Linked DNA regions of Homo sapiens: region 1 is linked to region 2. Evidence: promoter capture Hi-C in human tissues and cell types (Jung and others, 2019). All regions are on one chromosome and are shown on one strand. Each heading gives the region's core, a stretch centred on a gene start or on the middle of the fragment in contact. The rest is flanking DNA. Distances are from core to core; before and after follow the strand shown.

Region 1 (5,555 bases), core at 967-3,466, 35 kb before region 2:
ATGTTGCACAGCTTTCTTATAAGCCTAAAATTATGTGAAATTTAAAAATTTATATAAAACACAATGCTATCAAGAGCAAAAACAAAAAAAGTTCCTCTTGAGTTTAGAATAAAAATGCCTTCCTTCACCATTGCTATCCAACATTGTGCTAGAGATTCTACAAATGCAATAAAGCAAGACCAGTAAAATATATGAAGATTGAAGAGGAAGAAACAAATATGCATTAGATATATTTATATAAATAGTCTTAGAGAATCTACAGAGACTAAAGAGTTTTTGAATGTTAAATACAAAACAATATAAAATAATTAAAACCTTCTATATGGCAGCACAAACATTTATAAACTTACACTTTAAAGAATGTAACATTTACAATGGCATTAAAAATAAAAGATGCCTTGGAATAAATCAATTACTACATGTATAAGAGCACCATAGAAATATATATGTAAAAAGTTATAGAGAGAAAATAGGGAAGACCAAAATAAATGGCACCATGTACCAGCGTTATGGAGAGGAATACTCAATACTATCAAAACTTCAATTCTCTCCAAGTTGAAATCAAAAAGTTGTTTCTAAACTTATATGGGAATGCAGAGGACCAAAACCAGCAAAGACACTCTAGGAACAATGCCGAGACCAGCTCAGTCGGGGAGACCCTAACCCAGTGGTGCTAGAGGAGTTAAAGACACACGCACAGAAATACAGAGGTGTGACGTGGGAAATCAGGGGTCTCACAGCCTTCAGAGCTGAGAGCCCCAAACAGAGATTTACCCACGTATTGATTAACAGCAAATGAGTCATTAGCATTGTTTCTATAGATATTAAATTAACTAAAAGTATCCTTTATGGGAAACAAAGGGATGGGCTGAATTAAAGGAATAGGTTGGGCTAGTTAACTGCAGCAGGAGCATGGTGGTGCAGGATATGGAAGGCATATTGACAGTCAGTATAAATACTGATGCAAAGTCTCTTTGCAAGAGTGAGGGCCTGAGTTAAGGCAATGAGTCTGGCTTGCTGAGAGGTGTTAGGATCTGTGGGGTCAGCTAGGTTTGCTTTTGTGAGGATGGCAAAACTAGGTATCCAAAGGCGGAAGTACCTAACCATGCCTAGGAAGGAAAGGAGTTGTTGTTTTGTAGAAGGGATTGGGGTTTGGGAGATTAGCCAGACATGATCAGCAGGGAGAGCATGTGTGTTTTTATGAGAATTATGCTGAGATAGGTTACAGATGAGGATGAAATTTGGGCTTGACTGAAGTAATGGGGGCTGTCTGTGAAGGCTTGCAGTAGTACAGCCCAGGTAATTTGCTGAGGCTGATGGTTGTCAGGGTCAGTCCAAGTGAAAGCAAAGAGAGGCTGGGATGAAGTGTGCAAAGGAATAGTAAAGAAAGCGTGTTTGAGATCCGGAACAGAATAATGGGTTATGGAGGGGTTGGGGAGGGAGGTATTGAGAATAGAAGAGTATATGGCTTTGGCACCATGGGGTGGATAGGCAAGACAATTTGGTTAATAAGGTGCAGATCCTGAACTAACCTGTAAGGCTTTTCCAGTTTTTGGACAGGTAAAATGGGGGAATTGTAAGGAGAGTTTATAAGCTTTAAAAGGCTATGCTGTAGCAGGTGAGTGATAACAGGTTTAATCCTTTCAAAGCATGCTGTGGGATGGGATATTGGCATTGAGTGGGGTAAGGGTGATTAGGTTTTAATGGGATGGTAAGGGGTGCATGATCAGTCACCAAGGAGGCAGTAGAGGTGTCCTATACTTGTGGATTAAGGTGCGGAGATACAAGGGGAAGATGTGAAGGAGGCTTTGAACTGGGGAAAAGGGCAGCAATGAGGTGTGGCTGTAGCCTAGGAATAGTCAGGGAAGCAGATGATTTAGTTAAAATGCCTAGACCTAATAAGGGAACTAGGCAGGTGGGGATAACTAAAAAGAAGTGCATAAAAGAGTATTGTCCAAGTTGGCACCAGAGTGGGGGAGATTTAAGGGGTCTAGAATCCTGGCTGTCAATACCCACAACAGTTATGGAGGCAAAGGAAACAGGCCCTTGAAAAGAAGGTAATGTGGAGGGGGTAGCCTCTGTATTGATTAAGAAGGGGACGGACTTACCCTCCACTGTGAGAGTCACCAGAAGCTCGGCGTCCAGGGGGCTTCCAAGGTGATCAGGCTGCATCAGTCTTCAGCCACTAAGCCGAGAAGATCTGGGAAGGAGTCCGTCAGAGAGCCTTGGGCCAGAGTTCCAGGGGCTCTGAGAGTGGCTGCCGGGTTGGACAGTCCGATTTCCAGTGGGGTCCCACACAGATGGGACATGGCTTAGGAGGAATCCCAGGCTGCAGGCATTCCTTGGCCTAGTGGCCAGATTTCCAGCACTTGAAGCAAGCTCCTGGGGCAGGCAGTCCTGAAGGAACGCCTGGCCACTGTGGTTCAGGTGTTTGGAGTTCTTGTGTGCTGGAGATGTGCCTGGGGTTTCTCTCACAGTGGAGGCAAGGAATTGCAACTCAGAAATATGTTGCTACTTGGCTGCCTCTAGTCTATTACTGTACATCTTGAAGGTGGGGTTAATTAAGTCCTGTTGTGGGGTTTGAGGGCTGGAGTTTAATTTTTGGAGTTTTATTTAATGTTGGGAGCAGATTAGGTAATAAAATGTATATTGAGAATAAGACAGCTTTTTGACCTTTTAGGATCTAGGGCTGTAAAGTGTCTCAGGGTTGCTGCCAGACAAGCCATGAACTGGGCTGGGTTTTTATATTTGAGGAAAAAGAGCCTAAACGCTAACTGATTTGGGAGAGGTCGGATAAAGAAAAAGGAGCGTTAACCTTGACTATGCCTTTAGCTCCAGCTACCTCTTTAAGACGAAATTGTTGGGCAGGTGGGGAAGGGCTAGTCGTGGAATGAAACTGTAAGCCGGACCAGGTGTGAAGAAGGGAGGTGATGAAAGGATTATAGGGTGGGGGAGCAGAGGCTGAGGAAGAATTGGGACCTGGCTTGGCCTGGCGAGGAGCAGCCTGGGGAGGAGGGGAGATGTCAGATGGGTCTGTAAAGAAGAACGATTGGAAAGACGCAGCAACACTTGCGGTTGGGACTGAGGGGACAGGCGGGGGGGGGGGGGGGAAGAAGGAAGATTTGGGATGAGTTGCATTGGGAACAGAGACTAGGGAGGGACCAGTGTGTAAAAGAATGCCTGGACATCAAGCACCTCAGACCATTTGCCCATATTATGACAAGAATTATCTAGATCTTGTAGGATGGAGAACTCGAAAGTGCCATTTTCTGGCTATTTGGAACCATTGTCAAGTTTGTATTGAGGTTAAGTGGCATTGCAGAAGAAAATAAGGCATTTAGGCTTTAGGTCAGGTGTGAGTTGAAGAGGTTTTAAGTTCTTGAGAACACAGGCTAAGGAAGAAGAAGGAGGAATGGAGGGTGGAAGTTTGCCTATAGGGAAGGAGGCAAGTCCAGAGAAAAGAGAGGGTAGAGACACGGAGAGAAGGGGAGGGGGGTGCTTGTCCCCCTGGAAAGTGGAGAGAAAAGAGAGGGTAGAGACAGGGAGAGAAGGGGTGGGGGATGCTTGCCACCCAGAGGAAAGTGAAGAAGGAGTGGGGAGTGTTTCCCCACAAGAAAGTGGAGAGAAAAGAGAGGGTAGAGACACGGAGAGAAGGGGTGGGGGGTTGCTTGCCCCCCAAAAAGTGGTGCTTGCCACTAAGGGTGAAGGATCAAGGCAGGCGTCCCCGCAGTGATCAGACACCTCTGAAACGTGGGTGAATAATCAAGCAGGTGTCCTCACAGTGATTAAACACCAAGGGAAGGCTGTTTTCCCGAGTCCTTGACTGGCACCAGAGTTTTGGGCTCACGGATAATACGCGTCTTCTCTGTCTCTATCAGAAAAGGAACTGAAATTAAGAGAAGGGAGAGATTGAAGTGTGGCGCCAAGACTGAAAGGAGAAAGAGGTGGAGGGATAGTGAGAGAAGTTGGAGAAGAGAGTAAAGAGAGGCCACCTACCCAATTTAAAATTGGTGAGATGTTCCTTGGGCTGGTTGGTCTGAGGACCAGAGATTGTACGTGGATCTTTTTCTCATGGAGCAAAGAGCAGGAGGACAGGGGATTGATCTCCCAAGGGAGGTCCCCCCATCCAAGTCACGGCACCAAATTTCACGCGCGTACGTGTGAAGAGACCACCAAACAGGCTTTGTGTGAGCAACAAGGCTGTTTATTTCACCTGGGTGCAGGCGGGCTGAGTCCGAAAACAGAGTCAGCGAAGGGAGATAGGGGTGGGGCTGTTTTATAGGACTTGGGTAGGTAGTGGAAAATTACAGTCAAAGGAGGTTGTCCTCTGGCTGGCAGGGGTGGGGGTCACAAGGTGCTCAGTGGGGGAGCTTTTGAGCCAGGATGAGCCAGGAGAAGAAATTTCACAAGGTAATGCCATCAGTTAAGGCAGGAACAAGCCATTTTCACTTCTTTTGTGATTCTTCAGTTACTTCAGGCCATCTGGATGTATACATGCAGGTCACAGGGGATATGATGGCTTAGCTTGGGCTCAGAGGCCTGACAGCTCTGACATACCCACTGACCCCAGGGCACCTCCTGCCAATGTGTTTGGCACAGGGAACACCCCCACACCGGCCCCATGCTGTGCCCTTGTGGCCCCGAGGCTGCAGCACAGGATTCCTGTCTGGCCCTGGACCTGCCCAGGGCCCTGCTCTCTGCCACCACTCACAGGACAAACCCAAACAATTGCTGTCCTCCCTCTGAAATGGTGGCCATGGGGGTGCAGGGAAGCCCTCACATCCCTCCTGTGCCCAGGCCCCTCAGCCCCACGCTCTGGCTGGCTGCATCTGCCGTCCAGAGCCCTTGGTCACAAGACGTGCAGCCCGGACCAAGTGATGACAAGGGAGCCCCTTCCTAAGCCTAGAGATGGTCTAAAGCTTCATGGAACTGCTGGTCCCATGCTGGTCCACTGCTGGGACTCACCTGCAGCCAGATTCCCAGGTGAGGCTGAGGTGGCTTAAAGTGGTGCACGGGAGATGTCTGATATCAACCCTCTCCTGGAGGTAGATGATGTCTCCAGCCTGGTGACTTCCCTGGCCTCCAGCCACCACCACCCCCAGTGTCCCCAAGGCTGAAGGTGCAAGCTTGCCCTGGCCCTGGCCCTGGCATAGAAAGTGCACGATCTGGTCATGTCATGCAGGTGAGGATACCTGTGTGCCAGGTAACCTCATGCGGGCATGGTGGCACTTGTGGGGCAGTCCTGTAACCTGCAGTGTGGTGGGTGGGATGGATGTGTGTGACACAGGCAGGAACTTCCCCTCATGGTAGTTGAGGAACCACGTGTGTATTGGGTGGGGCTGATGGGAGTGAGAGGTGAGTGGCTGGGCACAGGCAGGTGAGTGAGTGACAGCTACACAAACCCCACCACTGAGCATGTCCCTCCCAGGACAAAGCAGATCAGAGCCACAGGCCCAGCCCTGGGAGGCCCAGAGGGGCCTCAGGTCCTCAGGGACCTGGCCCTCTTGGCCCTCAGAGGACCCCACTCCCTCTAGAAAGCCCCCCAGCTGGCTCCA
Region 2 (5,942 bases), core at 125-2,624:
TCGGGAGGCTGAGGCGAGAGGATCGCTTCAGCTTGAGAGGCGACGGCTACAGTAAGCCGAGGACGCGCCGCTGCACTCCAGTCTCGGCGACAGAGGAAGACCCTGTCTCAAAAAAAAAAAAAAAAGAAGAAAGAAAAAAAAAAAAGAAGAAAGAAGAAAAAATTATCAGAAAATGGCTCAGTGTGCCCATGAACCTGACTTGCCTGTTAAGTTAGGAACCGCACATCAACTCACTCGGCCAGAACCCCTCGTGTGTCGGGGGACCCAGAGGCAGGGGTGAAGCCGCTGCTGGGGATCCAGGCGCACTCACTCACCCTTTGCGCTCCCCAGTCCCCAGGGGATGCACCTTCCTCGTCCCAACCCCGTGCACTGCTGCACCCCCAGCCAGCCCCGTGCTCTCCTCCGCTGATCCGGCCGCCTACCCGAGGCAGTCTCGGAACCCCGGACCCCAGCCATGCGCGCAGGGAACTGCCGGGCCGAGCGAGCTCACCGAAGTAGTCCCGCGCCGTGCGCGCCTCGAGCGCCCGCTCCAGCTCCCGGGTGAGCGCCTCCAGCCGCCGCTCGGCCGCGCTTGGGCCGCCCTCCCGGCCAGGGGGCAGCGGGAGTGCAGGCAGCGGGAAGGGAGCCGGCCCCGCAGGCTCCGGGGAGCGAGCGGGCGCGGGGCAGGCGCCGGGCGGGAGGAAGTCAGCGTAGGCGCCGGCCGAGCCCCGGGAGCCGAGGCTGGAAACGCTGGAGCGGGCGCTGCCCACCGAAGGCGGCCCGGGACCGGGACGCGGGTCCGAGCGACCGGAGCGCGGGCTGCCGTGGCGCTGGTCGTAGCCCAGGCTGATGCCGCTGGATCGGGCGCTGCCGCCACCGCCGCCGCCGTCGGACCCCGCCAGGCTGGCCCGTGGGCTGCCCGCAGGCTGCGCGCTGAGCTCCGGAACCGCCGCGCGCCGGGGACCCCGCTCCCCGCGGCTCAGTCCGTCCGCCCCGGCCTCGGGGCCGCCGCTGCCCTTCCCTCTGCGGCCCAGCGCGGGCGCCGCCTCGTCTCCAGGCCCAGGCCGCGGCCCCCGCCGCCCCCGACCGGGAGAGCCGCACCCGGGCTCCAGCTCCCGCAGGGCCAGCCCGGCCAGGAGTAGGGCCGCCTCGTCCGCGCCCGCCCTGGAGCGCTGCATGGCCCGGCCCGCCGGCCCTGGCGCGTCACCTCCGCCTCCGCTTCCCGCCGCCGCTCCGGCCGGGCCGCCGCATCGTCCGCCCGAAGCCCGGAGCCCGCCCCGGGACCCCTGGGCGCGGGGCGGGGCGGGGCCGGCGCCGGGCCGGGGTCGTTCCGGCGGCCACGCGCGGGCCGGGGGACGCGGCGCCCTGCTCGGCGGCGCGCGCGGCGGAGGAATGTAAGCTCCCAGGCGCCGGGCCGCGCCCCCTCCTCGCCGCGGCCTCGCGCGGGGCGGAGGGACTCCTTTGCGGGGGCAGGAATGCGAGGAAGGAGACGGCGCTGCGGCCTCTGGAATGTGGGGGGAGTGGCGGCGGCCGCGCTGCGCCGGGACCTCGGAGGGGCGTGGAGGCCGGGCCAGGACGCAGGGGCGGGCGGCGGAGGCACCGCGGGGAGAGCCCAGGGTCTGCGGGGCGCCCGGGCCGTCGGGCCGCTGGGAAGAGCTCGGATTTCCGCAGGCTGAGCTGGAGGCAGCTGGCGCCATCCGGGCCGGAGAGATCCAAGCAGTCGACAGCTTTCCCCACATCCCGCCCCATCTCCCTTCCCTGCGCCGCCTTGCTCTCCGGCGCTGCAGGGCCGACCCAGCTCAGCTTGGAACCCACGGCGCTTCGCCCGTCCCGCGCCCAGGAATACTGTGCGCCTAGCGCAGATGCGTCCCCACGACCCCCTGCCTGGCCCGGGGCCATGTGGCCGCGCACCGGCCTCTGAAGCCCCCATCTGACTGCTGGGGAAGGCGCCCAGAACTAGGAGCGGGTTGGTTGGGGACTGGTCCTCGCGCTGGGTCGCTTCGCCCAGGCCCCCAAGGCCAGGCTAGAAGCAGGCCTCAGGCTCAGAGCCGGTGGGCGGCGAGCCTCCCCTGTGGCCATCACAGGCAGTCCCCGTGAAATATGGGGACTCCTCCCTTTTCCAGCACCTGCATCCAGGGTGGTGGGTGAGGCTTCGAGGGGAGGTCCTGGAACCAGCGGGGCCATAGGGGCCACATAGGTGGGGAATCGAGAGGTGACTAGGGCTTCGTGCCCAAGGACACAACTAAAATCCCTTGTACAAGTCACACGGCTATAGGGAAGAAAACCAAACCGTTATCTGTCAGGGCCTGATGGATCCAAGAAAAGTGTTGCGTGAGAGAGTACTGTTTTCCAGGCCCTCTCTGCTCAGAGATTTTCGGGAAGGCGCCTACAGTGGCTCAGCGCGCAGGGAGCCCGCACGGGAACTGTCCCGGCCAGACCGCCCAGGGCAGTGTGGCCTCAACACCACTGAGCACCCGCTGGGGCCGCTAACCCCAGCACCTTCCCATAGCCTGCGGAGTTCCAGCCCCTGCCCCACCAGGGTAGGGGAAGTGGAAGCAAGCATTTCGTGTGCGCGGAGGGTGGGGGAGTTGCGCTGTTTTGTTTTTTTCAGACAAGGTGTCGCTCTGTCCCCCAGGCTGGAGTACAGTGGTGTGATCACAGCTCACAGTGATCACACACACCCCAGAGTCTCAACCTCCTGGGCTCAAGCAATCCTCCCACCTCGGACTCCTGAGTACGTAGGAGTACAGGCGCACACCACCACACAAAACGCTGAGATTACAGGCATGAGACTCCGTGCGGGGTCTAGAAGCCAGCATTTGGGAGAGCAAATACCCAGGGAAGCCAGGACATGAAAAATGGTCTACCTTTCAAATGAGAAAGGAAAAGCCAGTTCAGTCATATCACATTTCATGGACTGCATTATCTACTATTTAAAAATTACAATATTGGCAGGACTGTGGTGAAACAGTTGCACATATGCTACTGGTATGAGTGCAAATTGGGATATCCTTTTGGGAAGAGCAGTTTGGCGGTGTCAACATCCGCACAAACGAACACGAAACTTAGAAGCAGTAATACTGCTGCTAAACATCTATTCAAGGGAAGTTATCAAAAATGCAGACAATAATCCAATCACAACCGTGTCGTATAATCCCAACATCATTTAGGTAATCTACAGCGGTCCCCAACCTTTTTGGCACCAGGGACTGGTTTTGTGGAAGACAATTTTTCCACAGACAGGGATGGGGAGGGTGGGAATGGCTTCAGGATGATTCAAGGGCATTATATTTATTGTGCACTTTATTTCTATTATTATTACATTGTAATATATAATGAAATAATTATACAACTCACTATACCATAGAAAGAGTGGGAGCCCTGTGCTTGTTTTCCTGCAACTAGACGGTCCCATCTGGGGGTGATGGGAGACAGTGACAGATCATCAGGCATTAGATTCTCATAAGGAGCACACAGCCTAGGTCCTTCGCATGCGCAGTTCACAATAGGCTTCGTGCTTCTGTGAGAATCGTGGTGGGACTCAGGTGGTAATGCTCCCTCGCCTCTGCTCACCTCCTGCTGTGTGGCCCAGTTCCTAACAGGCGGTGGTATACTGGTCTGTGGCCCAGGGGTTGGGGACCCCTGATCTATTCTGTCCTAGGATCTCCAGCCTTCTGAAAAGATGCTCAAAGGGAGCTCTCTGCATTTAAAGGCAGCTGTTGGGCTGAGTGTGATGTAATCCCAGTGCTTTGAGAGGCCAGTATGGGAGGATTGCTTAAGGCCAAGAGTTCAAGACCAGTCTGGGAAACATAGTGAGATTCCATCCCTACAAAACATTAAAAATTAGCTGCCAATGGTGGCACATGCCTGTAGTCCCAGGTATTTTGGGAATCTAAGGCGGGAGGATGCTTGAGCCCAGGAGGTCAAGGCTACAGTGAGCAGTGAGGGCACCACTGCACTTCAGCCTAGACAACAGAACGAGATTCATCTCTACAATAAAAAACAAAAAATTAAACTGGCGCGGTGACGGGCACTTGTAGTTCAGCTGTTCGGGAGACAGAGGCGGGAGGATTACTTGAGCCCAGGAGTCTGAGGTTACAGTGAGCTATAACTGTGCCACCACACTCTAGCCTGGGTGACAGAGCAAGACCCTGTCTCTACAAAAACAATAAAGTCAAGTATTTAATAACTGTTCTGGCTGGGCACGGTGGCTCACTCCTGTAATCCCAGAACACTGGGAGGCTGAGACGGGCGGATCACTTGAGCTCAGGAGTTTGAGACCAGCCTGGCCAACATAGCGAAACCCTGTCTCTATTAAAATACAAATACAAAAATTAGCTGGGTGTAGTCGTGCACGCCTGTAATCCCAGCTACTTGGGAGGCTGAGGCACAAGAATCGCTTGAACCCAGGAGGCAGAGGTTGCAGTGAGCCAAGATGACACCACTGCATTCCAGCCTGGGTGACACAGCAATACCCTGCCTCCAGAATAATAATAATAATAATAATAATAATAATAATAATAATAATAATAATAACAACTGTTCTTTCCCCACCTGCCCACTTAGAGCTTTCAAGATTTAAACTATATTCACATCCAGGGTCAGCTAAAACCTATTACTTGCTCTACTAGTAATAAATGACAACTACAAAACCCAGAAACAACCTAAAATGTTTGATATTTACCATTAGAATAGTTTAAGTACATCCTTGAAGTGGGAAATACATTAAGCAGTTATATTCAAAAGATTTAATGAATGGCTTGGGAATCAGACTATTGTGATGTTAGGTGGATTTGAAGTAGTCTGCAGAATTGTGGGGTCTCATCTCTACATTACCCAAATGTCCCCCTGACCCCATCTTCTATCTCCTCACTCCAGGGGTATTGAGTGATCTCAACAGACTGGCTCCTTCTGTCTGAGATGCACAGTCCAGGAGAAGGATGGGGATGGGGCTCTCTCAAGGGATTTAAAGCACTGTCCATGGACTCAATGTCCAGCCCCCACTGATTCCCCCTCTGTCCTCCCCTGTTGCAGGAATGTTCTTTGTGTTCACCTCTCTCTGGGCATTTTCCTCCTGAGTCCAGTGGTGTGCTGGTAAATGTCTAACAACCAGCTCTCTGGGGAGGAATTTGTATAAATCAGGAGCCCTGATGTGTAGCATTTGCCAATTACCATGGTATAAATACTCCCAGCATGGCCAATTTCAAGCTATAAAGATGGGGCCACTGAACTGAGCTGGAAAGAAATGGGTATAACCAGTTCTTGCAAGCTGGGATAAGCTGGCTCCACACACCGCTGCCTGAGTCCCACTGTTCCAAAGGAGGGGTTTCACTACACTGTGGCTTCCAGTTTATCATCCTCTCAAGTTAACTGGTCTTCCCTTTGTTAAGCAAAGACACACTTGGAGGCCAGAACAGGACATGTTCAATCTAGTCTTGCACCATGTCCTGAACCATCATCATCATCATCTTCCCAGAACCCAGGAGCTGACCCTACCCAGACTCTGTCCACGCCATGGTGATTTTTTGTTTGTTTTTTGTTTTGAGACGGAGTTTCATTCTTGTTGCCTAGGCTGGAGTGCAATGGCGTGATATCGGCTCACCGCAACCACTGCAACCTCCGCCTCCCAGGTTCAAGCCATTCTCCTGCCTCAGCCTCCCAAGTAGCTGGAATTACAGGCATCCACCACCATGCCTGGCTAACTTTTGTGTGTGCACGTGTGTGTGTGTGTGTATGTGTGTGTATATATATGTATGTGTGTGTATATATATGTATGTATATATATGTGTATATATATGTATATGTATGTGTGTGTGTGTGTGTGTCTATATATATATATATATATATATTTTTTTTTTTTTTTTTTTTTTTTTTTTTTGGAGAGACGGGGTTTCACCATGTTGGCCAGGCTGGTCTCAAACTCCTGACCTCAGGTGATCCACCCGCCTCGGCCTCCCAGAGTG

The links. The method cuts DNA at HindIII sites, captures the fragments that hold promoters and counts their contacts. A contact is called where the count stands out against the background at its distance.
Region 1: a fragment that was not itself captured here is called in contact with the fragment with the promoter of WTIP in region 2 in 2 of the 25 tissues and cell types used here (H1 embryonic stem cells and spleen).

Annotation. Positions count from the first base shown.
Region 1 is chr19:34,513,086-34,518,640 of GRCh38, reverse strand. No RefSeq gene overlaps it. Among named protein-coding and RNA genes, the nearest start is that of WTIP, 34 kb to the right of the region's middle. The HindIII fragment of the contact is 7,287 bases long and covers 1-5,555 here.
Region 2 is chr19:34,477,190-34,483,131 of GRCh38, reverse strand. It overlaps WTIP (WT1 interacting protein), which reads right to left and starts at 1,374. Exons shown (of 8, transcript NM_001080436.2): 1 at 491-1,374. The coding sequence starts at 1,157. RefSeq lists enhancers at 336-990, 991-1,646, 1,647-2,301. The HindIII fragment of the contact is 21,139 bases long and covers 1-5,942 here.